Regions from separate parts of the Homo sapiens genome. Here region 2 is linked to region 1. The links are contacts of gene promoters, found by promoter capture Hi-C in blood cells and fetal thymus (Javierre and others, 2016). All regions are on one chromosome and are shown on one strand. The core of a region is centred on a gene start or on the middle of the fragment in contact, and the rest is flanking DNA. Distances in the headings are between cores, read along the strand shown.

Region 1 (5,564 bases), core at 809-3,308:
GAGACCACACCTGAGCATTAAAAGCACAGAATTCATTTATTAATAATTAATAATACTCCTTGGGCAGTCTAGGGCTGAAACATTGATCAAGTGATGGAGAGACTTGATTTGGGAGGCTGGGGAGAGATTGTTGTGAAAATGCCCACATGTGTTATTTCACCTATTCTCCTATTACCTGGCCACTTTGGTCCTGGAGGAGACAGTCCTGAATTCTGGTGACTAGGGTCACAGTTCTAATGGAGCCTATGGAAACTCCGGGGCCCTCTTTTTAAAATGGAGCCATATGCTTGGCGGAATTGGCGGTTCATGGCTGCATAGAGCACAGGGTTGATGCAACCATTGAGCCAGGTGAGGTTGGCAGCAAGCATGTGGACCACCCGGGGAGCCTGGACTCTGGCATCCAGAATGTTGAGCAGCAAGAAGGGGATGTAGCTCAGGGCAAAGCAGAGGAACACAGCAAAACACATTCGAGTCACCTTCCCAAATTCCGATGAAGAATCCGGAGCTCTTCTGGCTCCTTTAATTGGCTGGGCTTTGGCAGATGCTTCTGGAGGGCTTTTCTCTGCCATCTGCTTAGCTCTCTTGCTGTTGATCTGGTCTCCCACTTCTGATGAGTCCCCTTCCAGGGTCTGGGTGGTGGCAGCACTGACTGGCTCAGATGAAATCCCCTCACTGGGTCCTCCTGATGCTAACCTGCTGTCCAGCTCCTGGAAACGACCAGGCATGGCCTCATCAGTCCTGGCCACATGGTTGGAGTGGATGCTTGCCTGTCGCAACTTGTATTGGTCCAGTGCCTGTGCTGCTCGTTTGACCTGGCGGTGGATGAGGCAATAGAAGATGCCAACACTGCTGAGCCCAAGCACAAAGTAGATGCCCATGAGGATGGTGGTGTAAGGCCGGCCTCGGATGCGGTCAAAGCTGCAGGTGCAGACTACAGGTACCAGGATATAAATAGGCCAGAGGGGAGCAAAGCTGGCCACGCCCACAACCCAGGTGCTCACCAGTGCCAGCACTATCCCCTTGGCACTGAAAACTTGGGGAAAAAGCTTAGGGTGGGCAATGAGGAGGTAGCGTCCCAGTGCGATGAGGCAGAGGGTCAGGATGGAGACAGAATTGGAGGCAAAAAGGAGGAGCCCAAATACCCTGCAGAAGGTGGCACCGGTGCGCCAGTGCAGGTGGAGGTAGGTGTCCACAGAGAAGGGCTGAAGGAGCGTGCAGTAGAGGAGATCAGCCAGTGTGAGGTTGGCTATGAGCAGGTTGAATCGGGTACGGAGCTTGGGCTGGATGGCCAAGGCCAGTAGGGTGAGCACATTGCCCACGGTGCCTGTCACAGCCACCACCACCCCCCAGCTAACTGCAACATAACGATAGCCCAGCACAGACTCATGGTAGCAGGAGAAGTTGGCGTCAGAGCTGTTCCACATGATAGAGGCTAAAGAGGCAGAGGGTGGAAGAGGAAGAGGGAATCAGAACCTAGCATTCAACTTAGATCTCTTGAACAGTTCTGGGACCCTGGACATCTAAACTGTTCCTGGACCTCACCTTAATTCAGTATCCTCCTGAACCATTCCCAGGCCTCTTCATCTCAAGATCCCTAACTCTCTCCTTAGGTTCTCTTAGTCCTTTCCCATTCTCAAATATTTCCCCAAGTTTTTATCTAAATATCTCTTGCCTAAATATCTTAGTCTTATTCTGCTCCAAACCTCAGTCCTCTTCTATATCCATCCCGCTGCTCTCAGTAAACCCAGTGCCCTCCAACTTTTTTAATTCCTTCCCCATCCCCAAAGACCCCCAGGAGTCCCCTCTCTCTATTCAGCATCGTGTATTCAGGATCCTCTCTGTATTCAGTTCCCTCTGCTCCTTTCCACTACACACACATATAGGCTTTAGTCATTTCTGTTTGTTACCACCTGGGAGATGAGGAGACCAAGAAGGTAAAAGTATACCCACAACAAAAGTGCTTACCTGAGTTTCTCAGCCTTCAATTCTTTCTATAATGGAAGAAGTTCAACTCACCCAAAGAGCAGTCCTTTCTGGTGGACAGTTAGGCTTCAAGCAGGAGACATCCTGCTCTTATGTATCCTATTATAGTCCACTGAAAGAATAAGAAACTCCCCCATTACCCAATCCCAGCCACTTCCTTCACCACCTCCGGTCCTACTCATTTTGCTTCGGCTAGTGAAATCTAGGCTTCTCTGTTGAAAGTCCCCCGCTACTTACCTCAGAGTGGTTTCACTCTTCCTTTCTCCTTCCTGAAACCCAAACTCTGTTTTCTTCCCCTCTTTGCATGGCAGAACTCATCTGTAAGATCATTGCCAAGAATTGCTAGGGCACGGAGTCAGAGCATCAGAACATTTGGGCCACTCCTCAAAGGGCCAAAAGATAAGACCAAGTTCCAGGAGCAACTTTAGGTACCCCCAGAAGCCTTGGGTTTGTTTCAGAGGAGCACTACCTTTCTTGTCTCCACGGCTTAGACATGGTTCAAGTCAGAGGGACCCATGTGACACCCTAGCACATTTGAGAAACCAAGTCAGATGAAGAAAAGTGGGGAATGAGGCATCCAGAATTCTGGTTTCATTCTCCTCAAGGGATCAGGGTCCTGTTCAATCATTCATTTATCCATTTACCCAACAACTTAGTACTGAGTGCCTACTATACACCAGACTCTGATCTAGACACTGGGGATACAAGAACGTCTGATATATGGCCTTGTGCATAGTCTACTAGGGGAGACAGATACATAAATATGCAAATGCTTAATCGATTCTCCAGAGCAAGGGTGAGTAAACTTCACCCTATGGGCCAAATCTAGTCTGCTGTTTTTGTATAGCCTGTGACCCAATCATGTTTTTTTTCCATTTAAAAATGGTTATATTTTAGGCCAGGTGCAGTGGCTCACGCCCATTATCCCAACATTTTGGGAGGCCAAGGAGGGCAGATCACTTGAGGTCAGGAGTTCGAGACCAGCCTGGCCAACATGGTAAAACCCCGTCTCTACTAAAAATACAAAAATTAGCCAGGCGTGATGGGTGCGCCTGTAATCCCAGCTACTAGGGAGGCTGAGGCAAGAGAATCGCTTGAACCCGGGAGGCGGAGGTTGCTTGCAGTTAGCCAAGATCACATTGCACCACTGCACTCCAGCCTGGATGACAGAGCAAGACTCCGTCTCAAAAAATAAAATAATAAATAAATAAGTAAGTAAAATAAAAATGGTTATATTTTAAATTGTTATATAAGTGCCTATGTAATATCCTCAGTTTTATCTCTTGATTAACACAGTTTAAAATATTTATAATCAGGCCCTTTGAGAAAAAGTTTGCTGAGGCTTGCTTTAAAATACTATATAGGCCTGGCTTGGAGGCTCATGCCTGTAATCCCAATGCTTTGGGAGGCTGAGCTGGGAGGATGACTTCAGGTCAGGAGTTTAAGACCAGCCTGGGCAACATAGTGAGACCCTGTCTTTACAATAAAAAAAAAAATAGCCAGCTGTGGTGATGTGCACCTGTAGTCCCAGCTACTGGGGAGGCTGAGGTGGGAGGATCATTTGAGTCTGGGAGGTCAAGACTACAGTGAGAAAGATTGTGCCACTATACTCCAGCCTGGGTGACACAGCAGGACGTTGTCTCTGAAAAATTAGAAAAACAAACTAACAGGCTGGGCGCAGTGGCTCATGCCTCTAATGCCAGCACTTTGGGAGGCCGAGGCAGGTGGATCATGAGGTCAGGTGTTCGAGACTAGCCTGGCCAACATAGTGAAACCCCGTCTCTACTAAAAATACAAAAAATTAGCTGGGCGTGGTGGCAGGCGCCTGTAATCCCAGGTACTTGGGAGGCTGAGGCAGGAGAATCGCTTGAACCTAGGAGGTAGAGGTTGCAATGAGTCGAGATGGTGCCACTGCACCTCAGCCCGGGCGACAGTGTGAGACTCCGTCTCAAAAACAAACAAACAAAAAACAAACAAAAAATACATCGCTGGGTGCAGTGGCTCACACCTGTAATCCCAGCACTTTGGCAGGCCAAGGCGGGCAGATCACTTGAGGTCAGGAGTTCAAGACCAGCCTGGCCAATATGATGAAACCCCGTCTCTACTAAAAATACAAAAAATTAGCTGGGTGTGGTGGCAGGCACCTGTAATGCCAGCTACTTGGGAGACTGAGGCAGGAGAATCTCTTGAACCTAGGAGGTGGAGGTTGCAGTGAGCCGAGATCGCGCCACTGCACTTCAGCCCAGGTGACAGTGCGAGACTCCGTCTCAAAAACAAACAAAAAACAAACAAAAAATACATGGCTGGGTGCAGTGGCTCACACCTGTAATCCCAGCACTTTGGGAGACCAAGGCGGGCAGATCACTTGAGGTCAAGAGTTCGAGACCAGCCTGGCCAATATGATGAAACCCCGTCTCTACTAAAAATACAAAAATTAGCCAGGCGTGGTGGTGCGCACCTGTAATCCTGGCTACTTGGGAGGCTGAGACAGGAGAATCGCTTGAACCCAGGAGGCGGAGGTTGCAGTGAGCCGAGGTTGCACCACTGCACCCCAGCCTGGGCAACAGAGCAAAAACTCTTTCTCAAAAAACAAAACAAAACAAAACAAAACAACCCAGAATGATATATCAGAGGCTTAGAGAAAAGGAGCATACTATTAAGTAGGAGGTGAGGAAAGGGTTCACAGAGAGGTTACTGAGCTGCATTCTGAATGATGAACAGGAGAGTTTTTTGGGAGATAAGTAGAGGGACATTCTAGACAAAGAGAACAGTATGTGTAGAGGCGCAGAGGTTCAGGTAGAAGCCAACAAAGGGCATGAGGTAGAGAACAACAGAGAAGAGCTTGGAGAGTTGAGCAGGCAGGGTCAAGGGGGACCTTGTGTATCGTGCTAAGGAGCTGGTTTCATGCTGAAGGAGTTGGTGAGATTTGCACTTAGATTGCTGTGAGTAAAGAATGAAGGCGTGCAGCCTGGGAGTGAGCGAAATGGGTAAAGAGGCACTAGTTCAGACGAGAGATAGAATGGCCCTAAGTTAGGGCCAGACCACCTGTACAACTGCATAGGGCCTTGCAGTTTGAAGGGCCTGGTGCTTGGTTAAATGCTCGTCAATCACTGTTTTTAAATTCTTAATACTATACTTTTTGAATAAGGGGCTCTGCTTTTTCATTTTGCACTGGGTCCCACAAATTATGGAGCCAGTCCTGGTTAGGGCAGTGGTTGTGGGAATGGAGGAATGATAAGGATCCATAGGTTGTTAGGAGGTCAAATAGGACTTATTTAGTGATTCATTGGATGAAGAGTTAGGAAGAAGGAGGAACTAGGATAACTTTCTGTTTTCCAGACAGATGGTGGTGCTCTTAATAAGATAGGAAATGTGGGAGGAGGAGCAGGCTTAGGGAAAGGGGTAAATAATGAATTCAGTTTTAAACTAGCAGACTTGAAGTACTTGTGGGGTCTGCTAGGATCCCAGACTCTCTAACCCCAATTTCTTCCAGTCCCTATCTCCTTCCCCACATGTGACCCAGCCCCTGCTTTTCTCTACCCACTCTTCTATAGGGCCTCTCTTGTCCCGCATCCTTCTGA
Region 2 (6,007 bases), core at 2,380-4,879, 130 kb before region 1:
CTGCAAGCCTTCCATCCTCAGAGAAGTTTCTTTGGTATTTGTGAAGCAAATCAGAAAGATAAAATACAAAGTTTACAAATTCACATATTTTCAAACCTGATTTAGACTGCATTTGCTTGATGTGGTATTCCATAAGTTCTAATAGCCATGAGATGACTCTTCCAGGGATCCCTAGGTTGCTGAAGCCTAATATTTATTCTCTGAACCATTAGGAGCAGAGAAGAGCATGGAAACCAGGAAAGGTACACACTGAACCAGTTAAGGAAATAAGAGTAGGAAACAGGATACGCATTATCTTATTTCCTCAGGCTTGCGCCAACCTGTGGTTATTTGCAGAAAGTCAGAGACCAATAATCCTTAGAAAAGAAGCCCATGTTCTCCAAGTCTTGTTGCTCTTTCAGAAATTGAGCTGACACTCCAGGGCCCAAATTAAAGAAGGGGCATAAGACCCAGATCTTTAAACCACCACTCAGAATCCATATTTGAAAAGCAACCATTTATTAGAACCAATACAAGAGTATGAAAAGGGGGAAAAGAGGAGGGTAGAAGAGGGGGAGAGAATGAGGTCTGCATCAGATGTCAGTTATGGAAACACATAAATGCTTACTTTTTAAACATTTACATTTAAAAGGTGAACATATATATAGACCACTTATACTTTAAAAAAAAAATCAAAAGCAGACATGTTTGGCTGAAATAAAACCAAGAAACACAGCTAAAACTCCCCCATAAACCTAAAAGTCCATGGAGAATTCAATTTCTCATTTCCATTCAGAAATCTGGCTACAAAGTGATTTGTTTGCTATTTGGGACAGTACAGAGTGCTGAAAGAAACCCAGCTCTTGAGTCTCTTAGATCCCATCCTGTAGGAAGTGGTGGGAAAGCCAGCGGACCATGGGCAAGTCAACTCCTGGCTACTTGGCAGGGAGTCAGACTGTGCTCTCTCCATTCCCCAGGACTCCACAGAACCATCTGGTACTGCTAGTGCTGGGTGAACAGTGAGAGCAGAGTCCACAAAACACAGAGAACCAGAATGTGACCGCAAGGAGCCAGGACCTTGTGCTTTTTCATGGATTACAAATCTAGGGCCAAGGAGAGGGAAAGCAGAAAGAGCCCTATTGGGAAGAGGAGCTGGCTGCGCCCCTAAACTGAGATGGAAAGAGTAAGGCTCTTGAGCCCACACCTGGCCAAGTAGAAATAGTGTCCAAAGTTTTCTCAAACCAGAGGGAAAAAAGGTCAAGGTTAGGTTCAGACTGCAGACACTAAGAGATGACAGATGTTGAATACGGTGAATGGGATGAAGCTTTAAGGATCAATGCCCAATTCTGAGTGTTATACACATTTCTAGGAAAAATAATTCCAATGTAGCTTTTGGGGGTGGGGGGTGGAAATAAGGTGGTCACATTTATTCAATCAGCTGGTCCCTATGAGGAAGGAGAGGCCCAGGTACAGATACCACAAAGGGGTACAGTGACCCAGCTGTCCTGGGATTGGTTGGGGAGTGGTAAGCAATGACATAAATCAAAACCATTGAGGGTTGCTTTGATCCTGAGACAGTCTGAGTCTGCTTCAAACCCATGGGGAAAGGAACTTTAATCCCCAACCTGCAGAGAGAAATACGCAGTAGCATCCCTGCCTCACGATTCCCTAATCCAATGCTCTTGAATCTGAAATGGCCTCCCTCTGTGAATGCAAGACACAGAAAATCCCAAGTGCCTTCCCCAACAACATCCTAAGTAAGTCTGGACTAGTAAGATTCCAACATTCATGAAAACACTGTCAACATCTGAACTAGCAGCTTTGATGAGGGGTGGGGGGCAGAAAATTTGCCGAGTCACTAAGTAGTTCCAGTCTTGGAGACAGCTCAGTGAGGACCAAAGCCTGTGTGTCAGGCTTAAACTCTGGCTCAAGACATCCTCCACAGAGGACCCTGAAGTATTCTATTAACTTTGATTTACAATGCCTCACAACAACACCCCTGTGAGGTAGGTCAGTATTATTAACCCCATTTGACAGATGGGGAACTGAGGCATTGAAAGAAGTGACTTGCCCAAGGTCAACCATTATCAATCAGTTGAGGAGGTGGGCACACAGAGTCAGCATCCACTCGATTCTTGTTCCATTTCCCAGAGCATTTTACCTCTCAGAGTGTACTTGGGAGCAGAGGGAAGTTGGCAGGATACACCTCATTCCACAAACTAGATTAATTCAATAACTGAAGGGTATTAACTGAGGGCCTATTATTTATCTAGTATAATGTGAGGAATCTTGGAAAAATGAACTGCTTCTGAAAGTCATGTTATAGATGTTTTGAAAATAAAATTACATCTTTAACATTAAGGACATGAATTATTTTGTAAAGAAATATTCACTTTATCTTAGGAGGTGAAGGACTAAGTCACACTGATTTCTCAGAGTTTTATACTGAGTAACCTGAATTCCTAAAATCCAGAAAGCAAGATCACATTCCAACAGAAACAATGAATAAGAACCTTTTCCCCAGTGGTGGTTCTTGGTAGCGCTCTTATAAAGCTGCAAGTTGGTGGCGTGGGAATCCTAGCACCACAAAACACCCTCTTACTACATCACATCCCTCCCCACAATACCCAGAGGGCTGCATTTTTCCAACCTTTCTGCCTCAGCTCAACTTCAAGAGTTACAGCATCTTCAAAAACACCTCAAGGGTAAGGATACAAATGGTGACCCCTGCTTTTCTATTCAGGGAGAGGGGATGAAAATATTCTCTGTAACTAATCATATAGACTCTTGAATTCTTTCCTCCTGTGAGAGATGTAACTCTTTAACAAAAAAAAGGTAGAAGAAAAAACAGTTATGTCTTTTCTCCCCCTTTGGATTTACTTTGGATTCTGGTAGAAATCATTATGTCTCTTATCCTAAACTGAGGAGGTGAGGGGTGAGGGTGACACGAGACAAACACCAAACTCACCACCAGCCCTCGTTTAGAATCCAATCCTAAAGCTACCGGAAACCAGAACACTGACTTGAGCCTTAAGAGTGTTGTGACATGATTAAACTGTCTTTTCAGGTGTTCTCAAAGAATTTCTAGGCAGAAAGCCTCTCCTTTCTTCCATACCTCTTCACAGCAGCCAGTGTAGGAAGTCCCCACATACAACAGAAACTCAAAAGATGATTTATCAACACATACAGTAAAATGTTCACTAGGGGCCGGGTGCGGTGGCTTATGCTTGTAATCCCAGCACTTTGGGAGGCTGAGGCACGTGGATCACTTGAGCTCACGAGTTGGAGACCAGCCTGGGCAACACAGGGAGACTGTCTCTACAAAACATTTTTTAAATAATAAAATTAGCCAGACACCGTGGTGTGCGCCTGTAGTCCCAGCTGCTTGGGAGGCTGAGGCAGGAGGATCATTTGAGCCCAGGAGATTGAGGCTGCAGTGAGCTGTAATAAAGATACTGTGGCCGGGTGCTGGCTCACGCCTGCAATCCCAGCACTTTGAGTGGCCGAGGCAGGCGGATCACAAGGTCAGGAGTTCAAGACCAGCACGGCCAAGATGGTGAACCCTGTCTCTACTAAAAATACAAAAATTAGCCGGGCATGGTGGCAGGCGCCTATAATCCCAGCTGCTCAGGAGGCTGAGGCAGAGAACTGCTTGAACCCGGGAGGCGGAGGTTGCAGTGAGCCAAGATCACGCCACTGCACTCCAGCCTGGGCAAAAGAGCAAGTTTCCATCTCAAAAAAAAAAAAAAAAAAAAAAAAAAAAGGTTCAATATGGATACTCTAGGTACAGGAACCATTCCAAGACCTAAATAGATTTTTTTTTTTTTCCTCACTGATAGCTGATCACATTAAACAGGTACAGGTGCTAAGAAAGTTTAAGACTGATCTTTTGGCAATGACAGTTTAGGTTAACTCTGTTTGGAATTCCTAAAAATAAAAAGAAATCCCTTAAAAAAGGCTGACAAACTGACCACTTGGCCTTGAATCGACTGTTAGGGTCACACCTGCCAATGCCAGGGGACATCACAAAAAAATAGAGAATGCCAAGATAAAAAGTTCACTGCATTCAATTTGGCCTAATTTCTTGATAATAGTTTCCTATTAGATTTTCCGATTAATACTGATGGCTCTTACCTAGGCTGTGATAATTAGGTTTTGATCTATTGTGACATTAATGATCACAATCAGTTGACTTTGAAATTGTCTTAATTAATGGCTCTTTCCTTGTCAGCTTTTGCCTCCAGTGCAGGATTCATTCCCTTCCCCACTGCCTTGTTTTAACTCCTTCTCTTACTGACCTCAGAAACAAATAGCATTGGAGGATCACTTTCTTCCCATAAAACAAGACTTTAAACTATTTTAAAACATTTCTCTTGACAGAGGAGCAATATGAGATGATGTTAGATGAAATGAGGATCAGAATGAAAAGGCAAGAGAACAAGCTGTCAATGAACAGGAAAAATTCCATCTTAGAAAACAACCAAAGTCAAGCACAATGTTAAAGTGACAAGTTGAAGTAACTCTAAAAAGACAAGATGAGGTAGATTAAAATCCAAGAAAGTCAGCACAAGCAAAAAGAAACCAGAATTGTTTTTATGAAACTATCTAAAAAACTTCACACTTTAACTTTCCAGAGCAGTTACTCTAATTCCTGGGAATTCTGACTTCCAAAGTTAGTCAACTCTCAATTATCCAGGCAGAAATAAATATCTTTTTCTTGTGGTCATCCATGGGTCAGAATCGACAACATCCTTACGATCAGACTGTTTCTTAACCCAGCTACGCTTCGATGATTAAATCTGAGACTCAGATTTAATATACAAGGTATATGTATTTCTGGCAAAGGTTTCCACATAACTGATACAATTCTCTGCTTAGAAATCACCCTCTCGGCCCGGCGGTGGCTCACGCCTGTAATCCCAGCACTCTGGGAGGCCGAGGTGGGTGGATCATGAGGTCAGGAGATTGAGACCATCCTGGCTAACAAGGTGAAACCCCGTCTCTACTAAAAATACAAAAAATTAGCCGGGCGTGGTGGCCGGCGCCTGTAGTCCCAGCTCCTCGGGAGGCTGAGGCAGGAGAATGGCGTGAACCCGGGAGGTGGAGCTTGCAGTGAGCCGAGATTGCGCCACTGCACTCCAGCCTGGGAGACAGAGCAAGACTCCGTCTCAAAAAAAAAGAAATCACCCTCTCTCCAGTATTGAATAAAACTGCACTGCTCAGAGTAGATGCTCAGGTATTAACAGATGTGCTCCAAGACTTCTCTTTAGAAAATCTCTTGTCATTGGAAAGCATGTCCGTTTTAGGCTTAAAGGCAGTTAAGTCTCATGTTCATTCCTCCAAAAGGGATGAGAAATTGAAAAAGGTGTGAGCAACTCTGGTAAAGTGTCCATGAGGAATATGTTGTTATAGAACCCACAATAATGTAACACAACTGAATCTGCAACATAGTTAATGCTTTCCACAAGCAAAGATTAACTCTACCACTACTTTGGCCAAGAATCTAAACCAGGGATGAAAATCAGGAGTTCTCAATCCCAACTCACCTGTTTTCTCTCTCAGTAATAACAGCATTTCCAACCCTCCAGCTATATTTATTTCCTGGAATATGTTCTTGTGTTCTATGGCCAGCTGGCTCAGTTCACCCAATGTTATAGGTCTTTTCCACATATAGGCCGAAATTAATGTCAACTTCTTACTCCAGGGCTACAAACTATACAACATCAGCCAGTCTGTCTCTGCCCCCAAGTCAGAAATGTGTATTGGTTTATAGCATTTATTATACCAAACTATTTTTTTTTTGAACAGAAACATAGCTTGTAAGCACTTAAACTATTAATGGTCAGTTCATCATACACCAGTATGAAAGTTATTTGAGGGCAGGGATGGCCTCTTTCTGAACCTTGTATCTTCAGGCCAAAAAAATGTCTGTTGAATGAAACCAATGTTGATGTACAGCAATGTGGCTGGAATTTAGAAAGCTTAATAAAAATTGGGTGAGGGGGCATCTAATTCAGAACATGTTTTT

Evidence for each region. The method cuts DNA at HindIII sites, captures the fragments that hold promoters and counts their contacts. A CHiCAGO score of 5 or more calls a contact.
Region 2: a fragment that was not itself captured here is called in contact with the fragment with the promoter of GPR84 in region 1 in 12 of 17 cell types (neutrophils, megakaryocytes, erythroblasts and 9 more); the score reaches 9.8 in neutrophils.

The regions. Positions count from the first base shown.
Region 1 is chr12:54,362,428-54,367,991 of GRCh38, forward strand. GPR84 (G protein-coupled receptor 84) reads right to left here and starts at 2,059. Exons shown (of 2, transcript NM_020370.3): 1 at 1,966-2,059; 2 at 18-1,432. The coding sequence starts at 1,424. The coding sequence ends at 234. The region is part of intron 1 of GPR84-AS1 (GPR84, ZNF385A, ITGA5 and GTSF1 antisense RNA 1); the gene reads left to right. RefSeq lists an enhancer at 1,988-2,077. The HindIII fragment of the contact is 7,569 bases long and covers 1,045-5,564 here.
Region 2 is chr12:54,230,465-54,236,471 of GRCh38, forward strand. It overlaps CBX5 (chromobox 5), which reads right to left. Exons shown (of 5, transcript NM_012117.3): 5 at 478-6,007. MIR3198-2 (microRNA 3198-2) reads right to left here and starts at 1,012; the gene lies at 933-1,012. The HindIII fragment of the contact is 4,657 bases long and covers 1,302-5,958 here.